Regions from separate parts of the Homo sapiens genome. Here region 2 is linked to region 1. The links are contacts of gene promoters, found by promoter capture Hi-C in human tissues and cell types (Jung and others, 2019). All regions are on one chromosome and are shown on one strand. The core of a region is centred on a gene start or on the middle of the fragment in contact, and the rest is flanking DNA. Distances in the headings are between cores, read along the strand shown. Region 1 holds the start of CRMP1 (collapsin response mediator protein 1). Region 2 overlaps CRMP1 (collapsin response mediator protein 1).

The links. Contacts are between HindIII fragments. The study calls those that stand out against the background at their distance.
Region 2: a contact is called between a fragment that was not itself captured here and the fragment with the promoter of CRMP1 in region 1, in 4 of the 25 tissues and cell types used here (esophagus, mesendoderm cells, pancreas and 1 more).

What each region holds. Positions count from the first base shown.
Region 1 is chr4:5,890,694-5,897,046 of GRCh38, forward strand. It overlaps CRMP1 (collapsin response mediator protein 1), which reads right to left and starts at 2,393. Exons shown (of 14, transcript NM_001014809.3): 1 at 1,896-2,393. The coding sequence starts at 2,276. RefSeq lists enhancers at 1-254, 255-998. The HindIII fragment of the contact is 12,427 bases long and covers 1-5,602 here.
Region 2 is chr4:5,848,731-5,855,670 of GRCh38, forward strand. It overlaps CRMP1 (collapsin response mediator protein 1), which reads right to left. Exons shown (of 14, transcript NM_001014809.3): 5 at 2,678-2,739; 6 at 662-742. Among named protein-coding and RNA genes, the nearest start is that of CRMP1, 41 kb to the right of the region's middle. The HindIII fragment of the contact is 7,580 bases long and covers 1-5,878 here.

The DNA of each region.
Region 1 (6,353 bases), core at 1,143-3,642:
GTAGGGGAGAGGAACGGGAGAGGTGAAGCGACCAGCGTCCCCAAGGGTCAGGGCGCAGCTGCGGGGCTGGCCCAGGCTGCGCCCTGGGGGAGATGCTGGCGTTGGTGACATTGACCGCAGTTCCAGAGGAACTCTCCTTGGGACAGCTACGGGCCGTGCACAAAGCGCCCTCGCCTCCCTAGTACTCCACCACGCTTTGAGGAAGGCCGGAAGAAGACGGCCACCCCCATCTGACAGATGGAGAAGCTGAGGCCCAAGAGAGCAAAGCGCCTTGGCTGGAAACCCGGATTCCCTGGTGCTGGTCCCGCTTCTCGGCCCGCGGCCCAGAAGCCTCCCCATCGGGCTCGGGAGTTTGGATCCCAAGAGAGGTCGGACCACCAGGGAAGGTAGTGGACAGGGGGAGATACAGAAGGGGTGGGGGAAGAGGAAGCTGGACTCTCGCACCATCTCCCTTTCTGATCACCCCACCACCACACACACATACACACACACACACACACACACACACACACACACACACCCTTGCTGTTGGACCTCTCCCTCGCGAGGCTCCGGCTTCAGGACCACGGAGAGCTCTGGAGCAACAGCCCGCCCGCGAAGGGATGGGGCCCGAAGAGGCCCACCACCGTGTTTACCAGTTCCCTGCTCCTATTCCTCCAGGAAGCCCTCCCAGATATCTGCCCCGATCAAGCTCTGCTTCCCTCCAGGCTCACTTTGGGTCACTCATAGCATTTAAGAGGGGAAGGTTTAATTAAAATGATAATGATTGTAATAAAAGTCAACAACAAACATTTATTGAATGCTCACTACCGACCGGCATTAACTGATTTAATTCTCACAATGAATCCGTCGCTCACCCTAGCCTGGGAACTTCTGGAGGGTGGGGCCAGGTTGCTGAGCCAGGGACCTAGCGCCTACCCTGGGCCTGGCACCTAGCAGTTCTCCGGCATCCAGGTCTGGACCAATTCGAAAGCTCCCCAGCCCTCGGATGCTCCAACTTCCGTTTTTCTGGCACCTGACCCTGGCTCTCGTCGGTCCATCCAAAGGCTACGCCGTCCATCCGCCCTTCTTCCCCCAGTTTCCTGGTGACCCCCAGCTCAAGAGAGAATACCCGCAGGGCCCAAGCCCTAGCGTTCCCTCTCCCTGATCCTCCCGGCCCCATGCTCAGGTCCGGGAGGCCAGAGACCCCAGTTCAAATCCCAGCTCTACCTCCACCTTGCTCTGTGAAGCAGGCACATCGGTGTGTGCTGTGGAGCTCAGGAGTGCCCCTTGAATCTACTGGCGCTTGAGGGTAGGGGTTTACGGCTCCAACTGCCCGACGAACTAAATCCTTAACCAAATCCTTCCCCCCAGCAAGCATGAGGGGAGCGCTCGGAAAAAAAGCTCCTTCCAGCTTTAAGCTGTGTGGCCGCAGGCGACTCGCGGAACCTCTCCCGGGGCCCGGCACACAGTAGGTGCTCTATAATTACTACCGACTGAGTGGATGGATGAATGGACCAACACGGAACGGAGCTCCAGTTCTTTTCACAAAACAGAATGAGGGGCCTGGGTTAGATTCATCCCAGAGGTTCCTTCGCGTTTAAGCGTCCATGCGGTAGCTTTAGCCAACTTCCCCTCTCAGAACCTCTCTCCCTTTCTGTAGAAGAGGAGCCGGGACTGGACCCGGGCGATCCCTTCCGAGTCTCACGGACCACGCCGGCCAGCCCCGACCGAGTCGCCCCAGCTCTGGGAACCTCTTGCATGATGAGGTGGGGGAGGGGCCGCGCCGTGGCTCTCCCCAGCCTGGCGGCCGCTGCCCCAACACCGGGGCCCGGGCATGGCCCTCGGGCGCCCCATGCCCTGGGTCCTCCCGGGGCCCGCCCCCCTCGTCTGGCCCGCGCGCGCCCCGAGGGTACCTGGCCATTGTCCCGGCCGAGGGGCAGGTCGCGGGGCGCGGGGCGGCGGATGCGCAGCGTCGGCGGCCGCTCGTCGCGCTCTCCGGGAGAGCTGACCGCGGAGCCCGAGGGCTCGCTCACGTCGCTGGCCGTGTCCTCGCTGCCTCCCGGCCCTGGCAGCCCGACCGCGTCGGGCCGGCCAGCGCTGCGCGGCGTGCGCGCCGAGCCGCGGCGGCCCACACTGTAGGCGTCGAAGTCGATGGTCTTGTTCTCGTAGGCGCCCTCCACCGCGGCGAACATGCCGCCGTACTTCTGGCGCGGGGTCTGCGCCGCGCTGCCCGGCCGCGCCAGGTACACGGGCAGGTCGTCCTCGGTGTTCCACGCGCGCCGCCGGTCCGCCATACCCGTCCAAGGCCGGCCACCCACCGCGCTCCCGCCTGCCCGCCCGCGGCCCTGGGCACCGCCGTGCGCCGCGCTCCGCGCCTCGGTGCGGGCCTGCGGCGGCCCGGGCGCGACTGCGGCCCAGGGAGGGGAGGGGCGGGGCGTGGCGCGCGCCGGGGCGGGGCCGGGGCGGGGCCTCTGGGCGGCTGCGGGCTAGCGGCGCGGCCAGCTACAAAGGACCAGGAGGCGGGGATCGCGGCTGGGGCGGGGAGGGACGGTGACGCTCCCGAGCCGCAGCGCGGAGGGCGGGCCGCGGCACCGCAGTGCCCTCGCCGCACCCCCCACTCTCCGCCCCCAGGCGGAGCGCAGGGCGCGAGGAGAGCGCGGGGCAGGAGCCGTGTGCGTACACTCGCGCGCCCACACGCTCTGGAGGCACACGCGGGTTCATACCTGCACACCAGACAATTACGCCAAACACATGAGAGATGCACAGACATGCTGGCACACACACGAGAGTCAATCACACATGCTCTCCAGAGATACACAGGGGCTCGATCATGCACACCATACTCAATGTTGCACACACATACACATATATGCTTGTGCACATTCCGAGTTCATTACAAACACACAACAGAAATCCTCATTGTCTCACAACCCCACTCACACACAGTATCACACCAAGATTAATTGCACAACTGGAGAGGCACATGCGTTGGACACACCGTTCATTCCGTCAGTTTTATTTTGCTGAGCGCCCACTAGTGCCTAGCACTGTTGTAGGAGCTGGGAACAGAGCCATGGACAAAAGAGACCAAGTGCCTGCCCTCCAGGAGCTGACCTGCTAAGGAGGGGAATTGGATACAAAAGCACCCATATGGTGGGCCAAGAGGTGGTAAGGGCCAGGAAAGGTGGTGCAGCAGCCAAGAGGGACATGCTAGAGGCACACTCCGACAGACACATAAGAGAAGCACATTCTTGCATGAGAATCAGCGACACACACATACACGTGCACGCCAATGACACCACACAACACACCAATATCAAAGGCAAGCTCAGGGCGATTCCACACATGTGCATCATAAACTGGCAACAGGATGCCCACACACAAGTCCACACCAGTAATAAAGGAAGTCAAAAGCTTAAATAAAAACGCTCCAGAGAAAGACACACAGAGACAGAGATGACCACACACACACAGCTGGCAGTCAACCAGACAGACAGATATTCCCTCATTCGAGGGGCACAGTCCACTTTTGTTGCTCCTGGAGCTTGCAGTCTGGGCGTTCTGGGGTTTCTCTGTCGTGGAGGTCGCTCTGCTGGGGCTCTCCTCTAAGGCCAGGCACCACCTGCCTCCTATAGACACCTTCCCTTATTTCTCCACGATTATCAGGCAGAGGATCCTGCAAGTCCCTGGGGACCCTACAGTCCCAGCTGCACTTCCTGGAGAGGCAGAATCGCCAGCTGCCGACCCCCTCCTCGAGCCAGTCTAGACAAGCAAAGTCAGGACTGGGTGGGGACTGCAGAGGGGAGCATCAGTGCTTCTTGCAATGTCCCCCCACCCATAGCCTTCCATGCTGGGAGCTGTCCCTTCAACCCCGGGCCCTGCCAGCTGCAAGCCAGAGCTCCCGCAGCGTGACCAAGCTCCAGGAATACCAGACAGACAGATGGATTCATGTTCTTGTTTTATGACTCTTGGGCCCCATGGACTGAGGATCCTGGGGCCGTCGGATCCGTGGCCTCAGCTGACACCTCCCTGAAGCTACTGTCTTTCAACCCTGCAACAAGGGGTCTGTGCAGCAGGTAGGTATTTTTACCGGCCCCCTCTTGGAAGAGGAAACAGGAGGGGAGATGTGAAATGGCTCCCTCAGGGCCTCAATCTCAAGGAGGTTCAGCCAGGCCTAGAGCGTGGGCTCATCCACTCGGTGGGCATTTAGCAAGTTATTTTTCTGTGCTTGAGAGAGAGGCTAGTGTGGGGACACAGATGAGTATTTCTAAGTCTCTGTCTTCAACAAGTGTTTACTCTCATGGGGGAGAGAGTGCTGAATGCGAGAACAGAAAGTTCCACACACAGCCTCCATCTACCTTCCACCCACCGCAGCTGCATCCTGGCTCCTCTCTCCTTGTGTCCCTGGGTCCACTGTGCAGATTTGCCACAGACACTCCTCTTGAGGCCCATCAGCCTCCAGGCTATCTTGCAAGTGTTTTCGATTTTTCAATGAAAATTTTTCTCTGTCCTGTGAAATACTATTCCCAGCCCATTCCAGGCAAGAACAATTCATGTCGAAAACCACATAGAAATTTCTTCTAAAACCCCACAAATGTTCAGGGTGACATAACCCAGAGAAATATCAGAAAACTCAAAAGTCTGAGTTAGGTGGAACTTTGGAGGCCAGGCCTCCTACTGCATGCTTGAATCTGCTCTCAACATCTTGAGGACACAGTCTCTCAGGCTTTGTTGGTGGTGATGGAAATCTTACTGCTTCTAAAGAAAACCCTTTCCATTGTGAGAAAGGGCTGGGCAGTTGCCAAGACTAGAGGGAGTGACGCAAGGAAGGAGCTGAGAAAGTGCTGTCTTTATGCAGAAGCAGGAAAGGATCTTCATAGCTTCTGCTTATAGAAAGTTTACTACGTGCCCGGACCATGGTAAGCACCTAACAGATAGTAACTCTTTTATGCCTCGCAGCAACCTTGAAACTGCCATTTTAGCCTCATTTTACAGATGAGAAAACTGAGGTTCAGAGACATAAATAACCTGTCCAGGGTCACAGCTGGCAAGTAAGACTTCGAGGTTTAAACAGAGTAGTCTGGTGCCAGAGTCCACATCGAAACAACTACCCTTTCCTCTCCCCAAGAGCCTGACTGAGGTGGTCCCACTGGGAGATAAGAGATAAAGGGACCTAGTTTAGGCAGAAGAGTCTAGGTGGTTGAGTTAGAATCCTGTTTTGCATGCAGTCTTGGGCAACTAATCATTCGACATTCATCTAACACACCTTTGTGGCGCCCACTGCGTGTCACTGACTTTATATCACTTCCTCTCACTCTTTTCTCCCCATGCAGAGGAGGCGATCGGACCCTCCTGAAACTGCATACTGTGTATAAGGGTCCTTGCACACACAGTTCATTTCCGTGCATCATGCTCTGCCTTATACACTGCTGGCTCCCTCAGGCAGCCCCACGTGGCGAACCAGGCCACTTCCATCTTCAGGCTGGAGCGCTGAGGATGACAAACCTTAAGCCCATTGCTCAGGTTAACCACCGGGAAGTGACTAACCTGGGATTTCAACTCAGGTTTGTCTGAGTTTTTTCCACACCATCTCATCTCAAGGTCAGTAACCCAAGCGCAACAGAGAAAGGGAGGAAGGAAACAAAACCCAGGGTATAAAGTTGGAAATGCACCCTCCAGCTTGCACGGAGACAGAAAGGAGCAATATTTGCCAGGGACCAACAGAGGCAGCAGGGGAAGCCTGAGATAACTGCCCCCATCCTGACGACAGCTGTGACCTCCCCCATCCCCCAACCCATCCTCCAACTGCTCCTAGTCCTCCTGGGAAGGAGTTCTTATAAGTGAATTACAGCACTACATTTGGTGAAGGACAAACCTTGAGCTCATCATGTCAGACATGAAACCTTCTTCCTGGGTGATGGCAGAGAACAGAAAGGGACACGTCAGATGGGAGAGGACAAGAGGCCAGTTCAGGTCCGATGTGGATTTTGTTTCGGCAAACCAAAAAAAAAAAAAAAATTCGTTCATTCATTGCAAAAAGAATGTTTTCAAAAAATGAAGGAAAGGGGATTGTAGTTTATCATCAGGTATATAGTAATGGATTATTGTCCTCATCTCAGATATAAGAAAAGATGTTCAGAGAAGTTAAACAAGTAAACATGTTCGGTTACATGGCCAGCAAGTGACAGAGATGCAGTTCAAATCCAGGCTCATTTGATTTTTAAATGTCTGCTTTTTTCTGTGGCCTCCAAATTAGTACATATGGGACTGTGGTGGGCAGAATAATGATGCTCAAAGATGCCCACACCTGAATCCCTAGAACTACTGCCCATGTTACTCCACATGGCAAATGGGACTCTGTGGCTCTGCTT
Region 2 (6,940 bases), core at 839-3,338, 42 kb before region 1:
AGGTGCCAGCATCTGGTGAGGGCCTTCTTGCTGCATCATAGCATGGCGGTGGGCATCACATGAGACAGCAGGTGCATGCCAGCTCAGGCCTCTCTTCTTCTCCTTATAAAGCCACTAATCCCGTCATAAGGCCCCCACCCTGATGATCTCATCTAATCCAAATTACCTCCCTAAGGCCTCACCTCCAAATACCATCAACATACTAGCTTGTGCATTAAGTTTTCAACATATGAACTTTTGAAGGACACATTCAAGCCATGGCACATAATATCATTTGATCCACACAATAACACTGCCAGGTGGTTGTTTCTGGAAGAAAAATAAGAGTGTTCATGGGAAAAAGTTCCTTGCCCAAGGTCACATGGCTAGGAGATGGAGGAGACTGGCATGGAACACCTCCTCCAAGCCTGGGCTTTTCCATGATGCCCACTCCCAATTCCTGAAGACAATGAGGAACACCAGCTTCCATGTGCATTGCCACTGGTATGACCTAGGTTTGCAAAGCATTTTCATTCATATCTGATGTGTCTGATATGACACCCAGTTCCTGGCTTGACCTTTCATTGTACAGCCTCCTCACTAACCAATGCTCTTTTATCAAACCTTTTGCAACAAGGAGAATCAGACTGAGGTAGAAGGAGTGGAAATTCTTGCCACTCACCTGAGCTATCAAATCTCCATTTTCTGCATGGACCAAGATCACAGCTCCCAGGCCCTTAAGGAAGGTAAAGGCTTCATAGAGCTATGGAGAGATAAACAGGGGTTGGTGTGAGATTTAAAAAAAAAAAAAAATCACAGCGTGTGCATTCATGAAGACCGTTCCGATCACACCCATTCGGTCATTCACCTGCCAGCCTCTGCAAACACATTCATGTGGATGGAATACGCTGCTACACAAGTCAGACTTGGAAGGATCATTCCTTGACCCTGACATCTTGCAGACCCAAAAGCAGGAAGCTGAGGATGGGGCACAACTGGTCCAAGTCACCCCAGGGCATGAAGACAGACTCAATCTCAGTGCCTATCTATGCCTTTTGCTGTCTTTTTGGGTTGGCTTTTTTGAAACACCTGTAGGTGTTAATGGCAGCAACTGGTCCTGAGAAGTCACTGTTAGTTTTACAGAAATTATCTAACTAAATCTGCTAAGCCTGTACCATAGCCACCTACATGCCACAGAATATGTGTGCATCCTTACAAAAATATGAACCCATGCCATTTTATGGACAATGGTGGGGTGGGGGAAACCAGCTCTCTAATAACTCCAATACTCAGAAAATATATAGCATGCCAACCATCCTCTCAATTAGACAAAACAGGCCCTCCCCACTGCCCAGTGTTCTCTTCCTACCTGAGGAGAATCTGCATTTGGGCATTGCCCCTGGTAAGGGCCAAAGCCACGAAGCTCCCTCTCCAGGGACACTTGAACCTCAACTTTGTTCTCCATGCATGCAAGACAACATCCCCTCGGATGTCTGCTTTCCGACAGACATCCCTATTTCAGCAAATAGGGAAGGCATGTGGAGGCATGAAGCACTTTTGAGAACCTGCACGCAGAGGCTGCTCGATTCCATCCATGCCCATGGCTCCAGTAGTTAGAATGAAACAGGTGAAAATCACAATTATGCCAGCACATCACATGCTATGTTTTCTATGTAACTGAACCAATTTTCAGCTCTTTGAGTGTCTTTTGTTGACTGTATCAAAGGCCTCCAGGACATCTTGGGATAAGTTATTTTCTGTAACCCCAAGTGTTTATCTGAAAGGAAGGACATAAAGTGCTTCTCCCGTTGCCCATCTATCTTCATGGTAATAACCAATTACCCTGCTAACTGATGCCTGTATGGCACCATTCTCTGCTAGGCACCATCCTAGCACTTTACTCTTCTTATGAAATCATTCAACTGCCTCTATAAGGTAGGGCTATCATGAGCCTAAAGCACAGAGAAGTTGGGAAAGCTGCCCCTGGCTGCAGAGCAAGCACCTGGCTTGGCTGTAGCCTCCATGATTTTCTCCACCACACTAACAAGCAGAGCAAGGGAAACTGACAATGAAACAAAACTAGGAGACCCAGTAGTATAAGAAGGCCAGGTGTCCTGTAAGTCGTAACCACTCCTCCTGAAGAACAACTTGCGGCTCCATATCCCTTGACTTGGTGCATGTACATAATAATTGTTTGCTGTTGGCAGGGCCAGAAATGTTCCATCTTACAAATGTGAGGAGATGACTTGCCCAGCATGTTGCAGTTGCTGTGAGGGAAGGCCAGGCAGTCTCTCTTCCTGTGTCAGAGCTCATAAATGGTCCCCATCCTTGCCTGAATACCAGGATCAAACGCAGAGCTTTCGGGAAGTACAGGCTCCTGAGTCCAACACCCAACATCTGGAACATGCACTAAGAATCTGTATTTCAAGTGAGCTCTCCAGATGATGCTGAGGATAAGCCAGATTTGGGAGCCACCAAACCAGGGAACCCCTTCTGCATGCCACTCACACAGTCAGAAAAGAACAGAAGCCCAGCTGGGGCAATGACTGACACCGTATCACACAGCCATTCCATGCCAGAACCAGGACTCGAATCCCACGGCTTCTCACAATCTCCCTTGCCCTGTGCTGCCTGGACTGGCAAAGCTGGCCCAGTCCTGCCCAGACAAGAGAGGAGAGAGTGAGTGTGAGGGACCTACCTGGCTGTCGGACATTTGGTAGACATCCTTATAGGCCATGTAGACTTGGAAGGAATTGACGCCTGTTTCAAGATAGAAAGGATAGAAAAATATGTTTAAGAAAAAACAGAAGCATGTCTTTCCAATAAATCAATGACCACAGAGCAGAGTGGTAGTCGCCAGGAGAGATGAGTGCCATTGGGATCCCCAGTGGGGCACCTATCCAGCCTGAGGATGTGGGCGAAGGTCAAAGGAAGCTTCCAGGGAAGGTCACACCTAAGCAGAATCTGAAGGTGATGGAGGAGAAAGGGAGGAGAAGGAGGAGGAAGGGGAGGAGAAGGAGAAAGAGGAGGAGGAGGAAGAGGAGAAGGAGGAGGATGAAGAGGAGGAGAAAGAGGACAAGGAGGAAGAGGAAGAGGAGGAAAAAGAAGAGGAGGAGAAAGAAGGAGAAGGGGAGGAGGAGGAGGAAGAGGAGCAGGAGGAGGAAGAGGAAGAGGAAGAGGAGGAGGAAGAAAAAGGAGAAAGAGAAGGAGAAGAGGAAGAGGAGGAAGAGGAGGAGAAAGGGAGAAGAAGGAGGAAGAGGAAGAGGAGGAGGAAGAGGAAGAGGAGGAGAAAGAGGACGAGGAGGAGGAGGAAAACTCCCCAGGCTGAGAGGGAGGGGTGTGGTAAGGATAAGGAAGGGTGTGATGAGCATCTGCAATACGGAAGATGAAAAGACATTAGTCATGCAGCTTCTAGAAAGTGTCCTAAAGCATGTGCTTTTTTATCCCATTTCTTTAAAGAATTGTGTTTGCAATTCCCATAAAGACATCAACAGTGACAGCTGCTCCGTCAGGGAGAGCTGAGTTCAGGCCTCAGTTGCTGTGTGGCACTTGAGACGTTACTGCACCTCTCTGGGTTTCACTTTCCCCATTTCTGCAAAGAGGACATTACACCAAACGTGTTGGTTTCCCATCCTGGAAATGCCCTGCACTGGACTGCACAGTACACTCATGACAAATAGCAAGATTTCTGGGCAAGCCCTTCTGACTTAGAGAAGGACGCACTAAAATGCTTCAGGACCAAGGAAACCAGGCGTGTTCCTCCTCCCTTTCTTCCCTCCCTCCCTGCTTCTCTCCTCTTTTCCTTTCCTAACTTATTTATTCATGTTACAAACACTTACTGAGAGCCTGCTGTATGCTGGGCATGTGCTAAGCACTTGAGATACAGAAGTTACTAAAGGCATCTTTCATGAAATCAATCAGCTGGTCCACTGATATTGGATGCAACTCTCTGTGCAGGTCCCAGCCATGCAACTGTGAGTAAGACGACAAGTCCCTGCCCGTAGGGGGCTCGCCATCTGGGCTGGGGTGTGGGAGTATCAGCAAGTCAATGGGCAAAGACAACTTAGTCTGATGATCCCTATGTGGGGGATGCATGGGGGGGTTGCATCTGTCAGGGGGCTTCAGGGAAGGCTTCCCAGGGGAGTACAGCTCAGCACGAACAGGAGAATCGCTAGGAAAAGGCAGGGAGACTGTTCCTGAAGGGGCCAGTACTCACTCACACAGCCCCAAGAGCCAGAGGCAGCCTCGAGCAGATGGGAAACGGAGGTGCAGGGGGCTGGGGCTCTGGGCCCCAGGAACTGGAACAAGCCAGTCTGGAGGAGCAGGCGCATCCTGATGAGCCAGGCAGACAGCTTGCAATTTATTCTGGGGATAATGTGGAATTGCTGAGAGCATTTAAGCTGATTAGAAAATAAAAACACAGGTGGGAGCAGTGGCTCACGCCTGTAATCCCAGCAATTTGGGAGGCCAAGGCAGGTGGATCACCTGAGGTCAAGAGTTCAGGACCAGCCTGGCCAATATGGTGATACCCCGTCTCTACTAAAAATACAAAAATTAGCCGGGTGTGGTGGCAGGTGCCTGTAATCCAAGCTACTTGGGAGGCTGAGGGGGAAGAATCACTTTAACCTGGGAGGCAGTGAGCTGAGATCTCGCCATTGCACTCCAGCCTGGGTGACAGAGTAAGACTCCATCAGAAGGAAAGAAAGAAAGAGCTGCATCTAAGAGATAGCAAGTGTTGATGAGGATGTGGAGAAAAGGCAATTCCTGAGCACCGTTTGTGGGAATGTAAATTAGCACAGCCACCTCTATGGGGAACAGTACGGAGGCTCCTCACAAAACTAAGAACTGAATTACCATATGCTTCAGCAGTCCCACTACCGGCTGAAAATCCAAAGGAATTGAAATCAGAATACCCAGGGGATATCCCCACTCCCGTGTTCATTGAGGCATTGTTTATAACAGCCAAGATTAGGAAGCAACCTGTGTCCATCAATGAATGAATGGATTTTATAAATGTGGTAAACATACACAATGGATGCCTTAGTAAAGAAGGACATCGTGTCATTTGCAGCAACAAAGTTGAAGCTGTGGAACCCTATGTTAAGGGAAATAAGTCAGGCACAGAAAGGCAAACACTGCAGCATCTCACTTATATGTGGAATCTAAAAAGTTGATTTCATAGAAGCATACAAAGTTGAAAGGTTGCTGCCAGGACCTGAGCACCATCGCCATTCGCCTGCTGGTGACCCAGCCCAGATGCGCACAGCACAGGGCTCCCTGGATGCCTGCAGGCAGCACAGACCCACTAGGCCTCACGGAGCCCAGTGTCTTTCCCTACAAACTCCACTGCCACTCCAGAGACCCTCCCATCTCAGTGAGGGGCGTCCTAAACGACCATTTGCTTAAGGCGGCAACCTGGGGAAAATTGCTCAGAACTTAACATTAGGTAAGGAAAGTAAGATACAAGACTGTCAATTTCCTTGGATTATGACTCTGTTATGTAGTTGCAGTGAATCACGCAGCAACTGCAATACAAGGATAATGCCTTTTTCTTTTAAAAGATAGGGTCTCACTCTATGAGCCAGGCTGGAGTGCAGTGCTCACTCCAGCCTCAACCTCCCAAACTCAAGCAATGCTCCTGCTCAGCCTCCCAAGTAGCTGGGAGGCGTACACCACCACTCCTGGCTATGTTTTTTTTTTTTTTTTTTTTTTTTTAATAGAGTCGTGGTCTCACTATGTTGCCCAGGCTGGTCTCAAACTCCAGGCCTCAAGCAATCCTCCCTCCTCAGCCTCCCGAAGTGCTAGGATTACAGGCATGAGCCACCATGGCCAATAATGCCTTCTTGATAGAAAGAGCTTAAACAGACATATGAAAATGCAAATTGAAGAGTGGGCAAATAATACAATCAGCTATTCACATAAGGAAAAATGTATGCAAAATGTTGAATGTAATCAGTAAAGAACTGCCATGAAAACCACAATGGTGGTGTCTTTCACCCATCGAATCGGCAAGGATTTCATAGAAGCAATAATGCCCAATGGTGCAAAGGTGCAGGGACTAGAGATTCTGGCATAGGATTTGCAGGGGTACAAGGGGATGCATCTTTCAGGAAACCAATTTGGCAATAAGTGTCATAATCTTGAAAAATGTTAAAACCTCTGACCTTCTAATTCCACTTCTGGAAATCTAAAGAAAAATTAGAAATGCAAACAAATGTTTATATACAAAGATGTTCACCGTAACAGGATTTATAATAAAACGAATAGAAAGCATAAATGCCCAATAAAAAGAAAATAGCTAAGCAAATTAACCATTATATTATACATTACAAGCCATTAAAAAGTTATTGATGAAAAGTAATTTGACTCATAAAATGTTAAGTGAAAAAAGAAGGGTTCCACATAACAGCTATTGCACAACCACATAGGGGAAAAATCATCCAAATACACAGGGAATGGAAAGCAATAATCCTGCACATTTAGAGTAAATTGTGATTGGGGGTAGAACCAGAGGAAAACAATTTTTTTCCTTCCATTTTCTGACTTTCTTTAAATATTGGGGATGATACTGTTATTACGAGAAAACATAGCACAGCTATTTTAAAAATTGGAAACACACCCTCGCTCTCCTTGAAGCACCACCATTTGAGGCTGCCTCCTCAGAGGGCTCCCCGACTGCCCCTTTCTGGACAGATCGCTCATGCCCTGTCTCTTTCCATTCTGCTGTTCTTTGCTTCCTTTGTGTCTTCTGATCAGTTCCCCCCAGTTCGATGTAACACACACCATAAAGGTCTACACTGTGCTGGTGTGAACCCAAACAGAGGGGAGCCAAGGTGGGAAGCAGGGACATATAGACGTGGTCCCCTCCCTCACAGAGCTCAGGGTTTGGCAGAAGAGCCAGACAGACAAACCATGTCCCATAATCCAGGAACAATGGAAAAAGTGCCCCAAAGGAGGCCTA